Linked DNA regions of Homo sapiens: region 2 is linked to region 1. The links are contacts of gene promoters, found by promoter capture Hi-C in human tissues and cell types (Jung and others, 2019). All regions are on one chromosome and are shown on one strand. The core of a region is centred on a gene start or on the middle of the fragment in contact, and the rest is flanking DNA. Distances in the headings are between cores, read along the strand shown. Region 1 overlaps MRPS21 (mitochondrial ribosomal protein S21). Region 2 holds the start of SV2A (synaptic vesicle glycoprotein 2A).

Region 1 (4,240 bases), core at 1,036-3,535:
CTCAGCCTCCCAAAGTGCTGGGATTACAGGCGTGAGCCACCATGCCCAGCTGAACCACTTCTTACAGTTGTATCAAGAGAGTAGCGGCTGGGTGCAGTGCCTCAGTCTTGTATTCTCAGCAATTTGGGAGGCTAAGAATGGTGGATCACTTGAGGCCAGGAGTTCGAGACTAGCCTGGCCAACATGGCGAAACCCCGTCTTTACTAAAAATACAAAAATTAGCCATGCATGGTGGCACAGGTCTGTAATCCCAGCTACTCCGTAGGCTGAGGCAGAAGAGCCGCTTGAACCTGGGAGGCAGAGACTGCAGTGATGCCCCATATCATATATGGAATGCATCCCCATTTACACCTAAAATTTGAAACAGAATCTGAGAAACAAAATATTTCTAATCTCCTTCCTGATCCTCTTCACTGATACCAGGTTTGCAGAAAATATAAGGCCAGCTCTTATCTTTTGAGAGAAGACTCTTATTTCTTTGTCTAAGATTGTCTATACCCCTTTTTATCTGCCTCTTTTAAAAATCCTTGTCCAGCCACTATATTTTTAATTTAATCAACACTCAGTTTTTGCTTTTCCTGTTTTTTTTTCTGTTTTTTGTTTGTTTGTTTGTTTGTTTGTTTGAGACGATGTCTCGCTCTTGTCCCCCAAGCTGGAGTGCAGTGGCATGATCTCGGCTCACTGCAACCTCCGCCTCCCAGGTTCAAGTGATTCTCCTGCCTCAGCCCCCCGTGTAGCTGGGATTACAGGCACTTGCCACCACGCCTGGCTAGTTTTGGTATTTTTAGTAGAGACGGGGTTTCACCATGTTGGCCAGGCTGGTCTCGAACTCCTGACCTCAGGTGATCCACCCGCCTCTGTCTCCCAAAGTGCTGGGATTACAGGTGTGAGCCACCACACCCAGCCCACATACTACTTTTATGGTTCTCTTTTTGTTGGTGACTGGCATTTTACACAAACCTATTTCCTGGGTCGAAGTGTTAATATTAGAGAGCCGGAGAGTGGTCAGTGTGACACCCTGTGGTTTCAACCCTGGCTGCCTATTAGGATCACCTAGGGAACGAACCATCAAGAAAACAAAACTAATGCCAGGGCCCAATCTGAGATGAATCAGAATCTCCAGGGGTTGCAACCTGGATGGCAGCATTTTAAAAAACATACCATGAGATTTCACCAGGATTGAAAATTATTATAATAGACTTGTAGCCTCCTGGCTGGGCACAGTGACTCATGCCTGTAATCCCAGCACTTTGGGAGGCTGAGGGGGGCGGATCATTTGAGGTTAGGAGTTCAAGACCAGCCTGGCCAACATGGTAAAACCCCGTCTCTACTAAAAATATAAAAATTAGCCGGGTATGATGGTGCATACCTGTAATCCCAGCTATTCGGGAGGCTGAGGCAGGAGAATCGCTTGAACCTGGGAGCTGGAGGTTGCAGTGAGCCGAGATCGCGCCACTGCACTCCAGCCTGGGTGACAAAGTGAGACCCTGTCTCAAAAAAAAAAAGGCTTGTAGCCTCCTTAAGGACAGAAACCTATGCTTTTTCATTTGTGTATCTCTTGGATTTACCAAAGTGTCTGGCACATCCAAAGCTCTCATTAAATGTCTACTTAATGAACATAAATGTTCCTTTATCTTTTTTGTCACTTATTTAATGTTTGTCAAACTTTTTTACTGAAGTGTCGTTAACAGCAGAGGAGAGTGAATGAACTATAGGGGTTCTGCTACTATAAGCAAACATGGAATTTCTTTGAAGCTTCCCTAAATTAAAATGTAAGGTGAACTTCGTATTCGTTGCCATTGCATCTGTTTTATGGGTAACACCCCCACTCCTTCGAGTTAAAATTGGTGCCTCCAGGCAGATGCATCAAATTTGTCCAGAAACTTGTATCCTTTGGCATTCTGTTAATTACCCTGGTTAAGAAGCACAGTATTACCTTTTCTTCAGGGATTAAAACACCAAAGTAGGAGTAGGATTTGGAAAAAAGCAATTTACATTGCTTAAAAAGAAAAGAATTATATTCTTTTCTTTTTAAGAAAGAAGAGGAGTGGTTAGAAAAATAAATTTGGCCAGGCGCGGTGGCTCACCCCTGTAAGCTCAGCACTTTGGGAGGCCGAGGCGGGTGGATCATCTGAGGTCAGGAGTTCAAGACCAGCCTGGCCAACATGATGAAACCCTGTCTCTACTAAAAAAAATACAAAAATTGGCCGGGCGCGGTGGCTCATGCCTGTAATCCCAGCACTTTGGGAGGCTGAGGGGGGCGGATCACGAGGTCAGGAGATCGAGACCATCCTGGCTAACACAGTGAAACCCCGTCTCTACTAAAAATACAAAAAATTAGCTGGGCGCCGTGGCGGGCGCCTATAGTCCCAGCTACTCGGGAGGCTGAGGCAGGAGAATGACGTGAACCCGGGAGGCGGAGCTTGCAGTGAGCCAAGATGGCGCCATTGCACTCCAACCTGGGGGACGAGAGCGAGACTTCGTCTCAAAAGAAAAAAAATTAGCCGGACATGGTGGCAGGTGCCTGTAATCCCAGCTACTCAGGAGGCTGAGGCAGGAGAATCGCTTGAACCCAGGAGGCGGAGGTTCCAGTGAGCCGAGATCGCGCCATTCATTGCACTCCAGCCTGGGGGACGAGAGCGAGACTTCGTCTCAAAAAAGGAAAAGAAATTCAAGTCCCATAGACTCAGAGTCCCATAAATTGTATTATAGCTTCGCGGGGCAGGGGGGAAATGAACAAATATTTCAGTCTTAGAATAATTTTCTTTTTCCTTTCTTTTTTTTTTAATACGGAGTCTCTCTCTGTTGCCCAGACTGCGTGGTCTCGCCTCACTGCAACCTCTGTCTCCCGGGTTCAAGTGATTCTCCTGCCTCAGCCTCCCGAGTAGCTGGGATTACAGGCACCTGCCACCACGTCCGGCTAATTTTTTGTAGTAGAGACGGGGTTTCACGATGTTGGCCAGGCTGGTCTCAAACTCCTGACCTCATGATTGGCCCGCCCGGCCTCCCAAAGCGCTGGGATTACAGGGGTGAGCCACCGTGCCCGGCCTCTTAGAATAATTTTCTAGGTAAGGACTTTCAAGCTTGCATACGTGAGCAGACTGATTTTGGAGTGATCCAATCTTCTGTTTTCCTGCTGCCTGTTAAACACATTTTCTGACTGATGCACTTTTCTGTTTCTTCTTTTTCTCTGCTTTTCCCAAATGTCCTCTCTCTAGCCACTTTTTCTGTATATCTTTCTCACACTCCAGGCCTCTCCTGATCTCTTTCAGCTTTCTCATAGCTGGTAGTTTAAAAATAATTTGCTTGTTCTGTGGTCTAATTACAACAATAGGTAGGAGAGCAAATGAGTCTAGAGGGAGGTGATTAAAGCTTTACCATGTTTGGAGTACAGAGAGAGTCTTACAAAGGAAATAGCCTACGTGTCTGTCCAGTGAGGCCACCACAAAATGCCTGTTATATAACTGGGGGCCCTCATTGGTGCCCCGGGATGAGAAGGTGGAGAGTGGGGGTTGCTAGGAAGCCCTGCATGATTGGCTGGCCCCCAAGCAAAGAAAGGTGAGTACACTGGAAGCATGCCCTGTTGACTCCTTTTACTCCTAGTGGGCTACCTTCTGGGTCCATTGAGTCCTTCTGCATACACGTCTGTCCTGACGTAGACTGGCTACACTGACATGTGAGTCTGCCACCCGCACCTCCCCCCGCTCCAGGCAGCTTGGCTCCTTTTACATAATCATTTGAATTTCACTAAAACTGGCAGCTGGTTTCTCCTTCAGTATTAGGTTGCCAGGCGCCCGAACTCCAGGCTGATCTGTTTACTCTAAAGCTCTTGATGTACTAGTCCTTGAACTACTTTTGGAAGCAGAAGGAAGCATCATTAGTAACACCCCCTCTATTCTTGTGTTTTACAAAGCTTTTCTTGCATCCTTTTCTGTTAGAGGTAAAGTTGAGTAGATACCTCTACTATAGGGACTCTGGGGCATTTGAAGATAATCTGTGCCTTTTTTAGTATGACTAGAACGTGTCGGGTAAGGGAGGGAATCCTCACCTGGCATCTTGGAATTTATTTGGTCTGTGTTTTGGAAGTAAGTAGTACATCCAGGGAATGCCATTTACCAACCCCCATCATTATATTCTTTCTTTTCCCTTCACCATTCTTATGTTCTTTTGTTATTCTTTTTCCTTGTCTTGCCCTTTTGCCTGACAGTACAGGCATTTCCTTGGTAAGATGATCACCTTT
Region 2 (4,240 bases), core at 634-3,133, 380 kb before region 1:
GGTTCAGAGAGAAGCACTGGCAAGCAGCGCCTTATCCCCTCAGGACAGATGTAAGCAGTGGACCACGGTGACCAGAAGCAGTGACCCCTATGTCACCTTTTCTTCATGGTTCAGGGCCCAACCATCCCCCATGAAAGAGCTGGAACTGCGGAATCCCCTCAGCGCATGGCAATTTGCTAGCTTTCCTCTCTTTCCTAACCAGGATCTCCCCTCCAGCCCTGAAGGAGGCAGGACCCACCAGGAGCCATACTCTATGTTTGTTGACCCTATTTCCCCCTGAGAGGGGCACGTAGGGCAGGGAAGCCTTCCACAACCACAGCAGGATATGAGGTCTCAACAGCCAGCTTCCTCAGGGCCAGCAAGCCCAGGAGGTCAGGAGAGAAAGAAAGAAGACAAATTCTTTGAGCTGGTGAGGAAGTGGTGCTATTTTTAGCCCCCAAAACAGCACAGGGTGGCTAAGCCTGGGGGAGTGAGACAAGACTTGGAGAGGTGGAGGTTAAAGGAGACAAGGTTCAGGGTTACAAGGTCCTAGGCTGGCTGACTTCACCTGACAGGAAAAAATGTGCCCAGGAGATTTTCTGCAGAGGGTGGAGACAGGCAGGGGACTCCAGAGCAAATGCTTTCTTTCAGAACAGCTCATCCAGCCCTGGGTCCAGAACCCCCCACCCTCCCAGTCAAAGCCCCTGACTTTGGGGTCCACCCAGATCCCCAGGCCTTCCTAGCTCAGGTGACAAGGTCATTAAAAAGCAATCACTTATCAAAACGTCCGCGGGGGCGGGGGTAGAATGTGGGAGGTGCGGGAGCACCCCTTCCCCATGACAGCCCGGTCATCGAACTTCAGCCCCCACCCAGGACCATCAAGACTGCGCCTCCCCTCCCCACATCCTACCAAGGTTAGGAAGATAGGAGCACCCACAGTTCTGAGGGATAAAAATGAGGGTGTCAGCTGAGAATGCACACTGAGGAATACGGAGAGGCAGAGAGGGGGACGCAGGGAGAGACCTCCGCATGCACAGACATAGAGACCGCCCCTATCAGCATTTGCAGCGACCCCCCCACACCCCATCTTGCCTCAGCTCCGGAATAAGGGAAAAGCCCCCAGAACTGACTAAATCCCTGCTCTGAGCACCTCCTCCACCCTTGGTCCTGCTGCTAGACAAGTGTCCACCTTCACTCAACATCCCTTCCCCCCACCCCGGAGCAACTGCCGCCAGCCCCCGCCATCCATGCCCCCAACACCTGGCGGCTCTACATCTCTGTCTCCCCAGTATTTCCATTCTTCACTCCCCTTCCCTCCATCCTTCACCTGCCCTTCTTCCCCTGCCCCCCACCCACCCAAGTCCAGGCGTGCACACTGAGGCAGCATCCATTCTCCAGCCCCAGCCAAGGTCATTTATCATTCATCCTGGGGGTGGGGGGACGTCAAGGTGAGGAGGGGATAGGAGTTTGAGGGAACCTCATCCCACCTCACAACCCCACCACCACGTTAATCTCCGAAGGGGATAGTGGGGACTTGGTTAAGGTAGAGAAAAACACCCCTCCTCCCCATTCACCAATATTATACATATGCGTGTGTGTGTGTGTGTCCTGAAGAGCACAACTGAAATAAATGTCCATCCCCAAACCACCACCAACCCACCAACCCCCCTCACCCCTAGAGAGGGGATCGTCACCCTCCCCATAAGCAAAGCATCGGAGGATAAAATGGCTGCAAGGCAAGGCAAAGATGCTTCTGCCAGGGGCGGGGAGGAGGTGAGCGACTGAGAAAGGGGTCTCACCTGGTCTAGGTTCCCCGGGTAAGGAGTCCCGGGCGAGGACGGGGGTCCCGGCCGCGGGCGGAGGCGGCAGCGGCGACTGCTCCCGGCACCAGGGAAGCGGCAATGCAGACCTGCCACCCCCCTTCCACCACTCCAGCCCCGCCTCCGCCCCCCCCTACCCCGCGCCACTGAGCATCGGGAGAGACCATTGGTGGGGAGAGGAGAAAAGAGGATGGGGAGGGAGTCAGGGCACGGGGAGAAATGATGAAAGGGCCGGAGGTTGTCACAAGAACAGCTGGAAATGGCACCCAGCCCTTCCCAGGCCCTTCCTAGTAAAAGATAGAAGGAACTAAAGAAAAAAACAGTGATGTTAGGAAGACAAGTGGGAAGACAGGGAGATGGGGAATGTGGCAGCCCCTTCCTTAGCACCCCAGTCTCAGTATGGCAGGACCCAATAATTTCAGGGGCTTTTGCTGCCTTCAAAACACCTCCCTTGCCTTCTCCACTGCTCTCAAACTCCTTTTTCACAACAGTCTCCCAAATCCAGAGTGCTCCTATTCCAAGTTTACCTGGACATTTTAGAGAAAGCAGAGATAACAAGGTGTGGTTTCTATCCTGAACTGCCAGAGTCAGAGACCCCTGGATTCCTTCCATCTCTTTCCTCACAAAACAGTCCAGGTTACTTATTTACAGTGGACACCTCCTCATCCTGTCCATTCAGTTGGTGGTAGCAGAAGTACTGGGGAAGTTGAGGGATTTTTACAGACCTGACCAACCGGACAGTTCCCCTTCCATTAATTTGCTCCAATGACTCAAAAAGGATCCTCTCAATACCCTTCTCCATTTTCTCTTACTCTCCTCTACCTCCCTCCCCTCCCCTCCACACACTTGTACTTCCCGGGCAGGAAGAAGTAAATTGTTTCAGCTTTTCCCTTCATCTTTCCTTTGCTCTTGCATCAATAACCTGGACTCAGAGATCCAAGACATGCCACTTGGTGACACTTGATGACCATCCCTGCCGAAGGAGTGAGAGGGAATATGGTGATTTGGGGAAATACATCCTGAATGTGTCTATGCCAGATAAGGTCAGGACCTTCCAGACAGCACTGACCTGGGCTTGGACCTGGGTTCTCACTGCTAACAAGCTGTCAACTCTTGGTCAAGTTCTCCACATCTGTGAACTTCAGGTTTCTCATCTGGAAAAGGGGGGCTTGGACTAGATACTGCATCAGGTCCCTCTCAGATCTAATAGCGTGTGATTCTGCCTTACTAAATGTGGAGGCTTCAGAATGCTGATATATATACATGGAGAAGGCTGACAGGCTATGTCCGAAGAGACCACACAGGTAACATTTGCCAGGTTGAATTTACCTCTGACAGGGACACGGGCCTGGGCTTTGCAGACTCCAAAGCTGGATCTTGGAAATAATCATTCATGCCAACAAAGTTCACAATCTTCTGAAATATAAAGCCATAATACATAAATATTAATTTATCATAAATATTTAACTGTCACTCAGACTGAAAACTCATATCTACATGTCTAGTACATTCTCTCCCTGAAGCCAAATCAGAATCATAATGTCAATGTATAAATGCACAATGACATTACTGGAGGATTTGTATCTTTAATGGCATCTGGCCATCTGCAATAAGCAGCCATGCCAATGGGTCCAGAAAACTCTTCTTGGCAACAATCTTCTACCCCCACCTCTTTGCTATTGGCAGCCTTGCCAGCACTCCTGGACTACTCTGAATGTGACGGCTTTCCAGGATGGTGCTTGGACTGGCCTCAGGGACTCTCCCTTTACTAGACTTTCATTGCTGACCCGTCTTCAGGTTAACACACATTCTTTTTCTTTTTTTTTTTTTTTTTGAGACAGAGTCTCACTCTGTCGCCCAGGCTGGAGTGCAGTGGCGCAATCTCAGCTCACTGTAACCTCCACCTCCGGTGTTCAAGTGATTCTCCTGCCTCAGCCTTCCCAGTAGCTGGGACTACAGGCACGAGCCACCACACCCAGTTAACTTTTTTTTTTTTTTTTGAGACAGAGTCTTGCTCCGTCGCCCAGGCTGGAGTGCAGTGGCACAATCTCGGCTCACTGCAAGCTCCGCCTCCCGGGTTCATGCCATTCTCCTGCCTCAGCCTCCCGAGTAGCTGGGACTACAGGTGCCCGCCACCACACCCGGCTAATTTTTTGTATTTTTAGGAGAGACGGGGTTTCACTGTGTTAGCCAGGATGGTCTCGATCTCCTGACCTTGTGATCCGCCCGCCTCAGCCTCCCAAAGTGCTGGGATTACAGGCGTGAGCCACTGCGCCTGGCTAACTTTTGTATTGTTAATGGAGACAGGGTTTCACCGTGTTGGCCAGGCTGCTCTCGAACTCCGGACCTCAAGTGATCCACTCACCTCTGCCTCCCAAAGTGCTGGGATTACAGGCGTGAGCCACCGCACCCAGCCAAATATGTTAACATTTTCAATTAGG

Evidence for each region. Contacts are between HindIII fragments. The study calls those that stand out against the background at their distance.
Region 2: a contact is called between the fragment with the promoter of SV2A here and a fragment that was not itself captured in region 1, in 1 of the 25 tissues and cell types used here (dorsolateral prefrontal cortex).

What each region holds. Positions count from the first base shown.
Region 1 is chr1:150,298,849-150,303,088 of GRCh38, forward strand. The region is part of intron 2 of MRPS21 (mitochondrial ribosomal protein S21); the gene reads left to right. Among named protein-coding and RNA genes, the nearest start is that of MRPS21, 7.1 kb to the left of the region's middle. The HindIII fragment of the contact is 5,855 bases long and covers 1-4,240 here.
Region 2 is chr1:149,915,961-149,920,200 of GRCh38, forward strand. It overlaps SV2A (synaptic vesicle glycoprotein 2A), which reads right to left and starts at 1,884. Exons shown (of 13, transcript NM_014849.5): 1 at 1,779-1,884. RefSeq lists a silencer at 1,728-1,797. The HindIII fragment of the contact is 19,885 bases long and covers 1-4,240 here.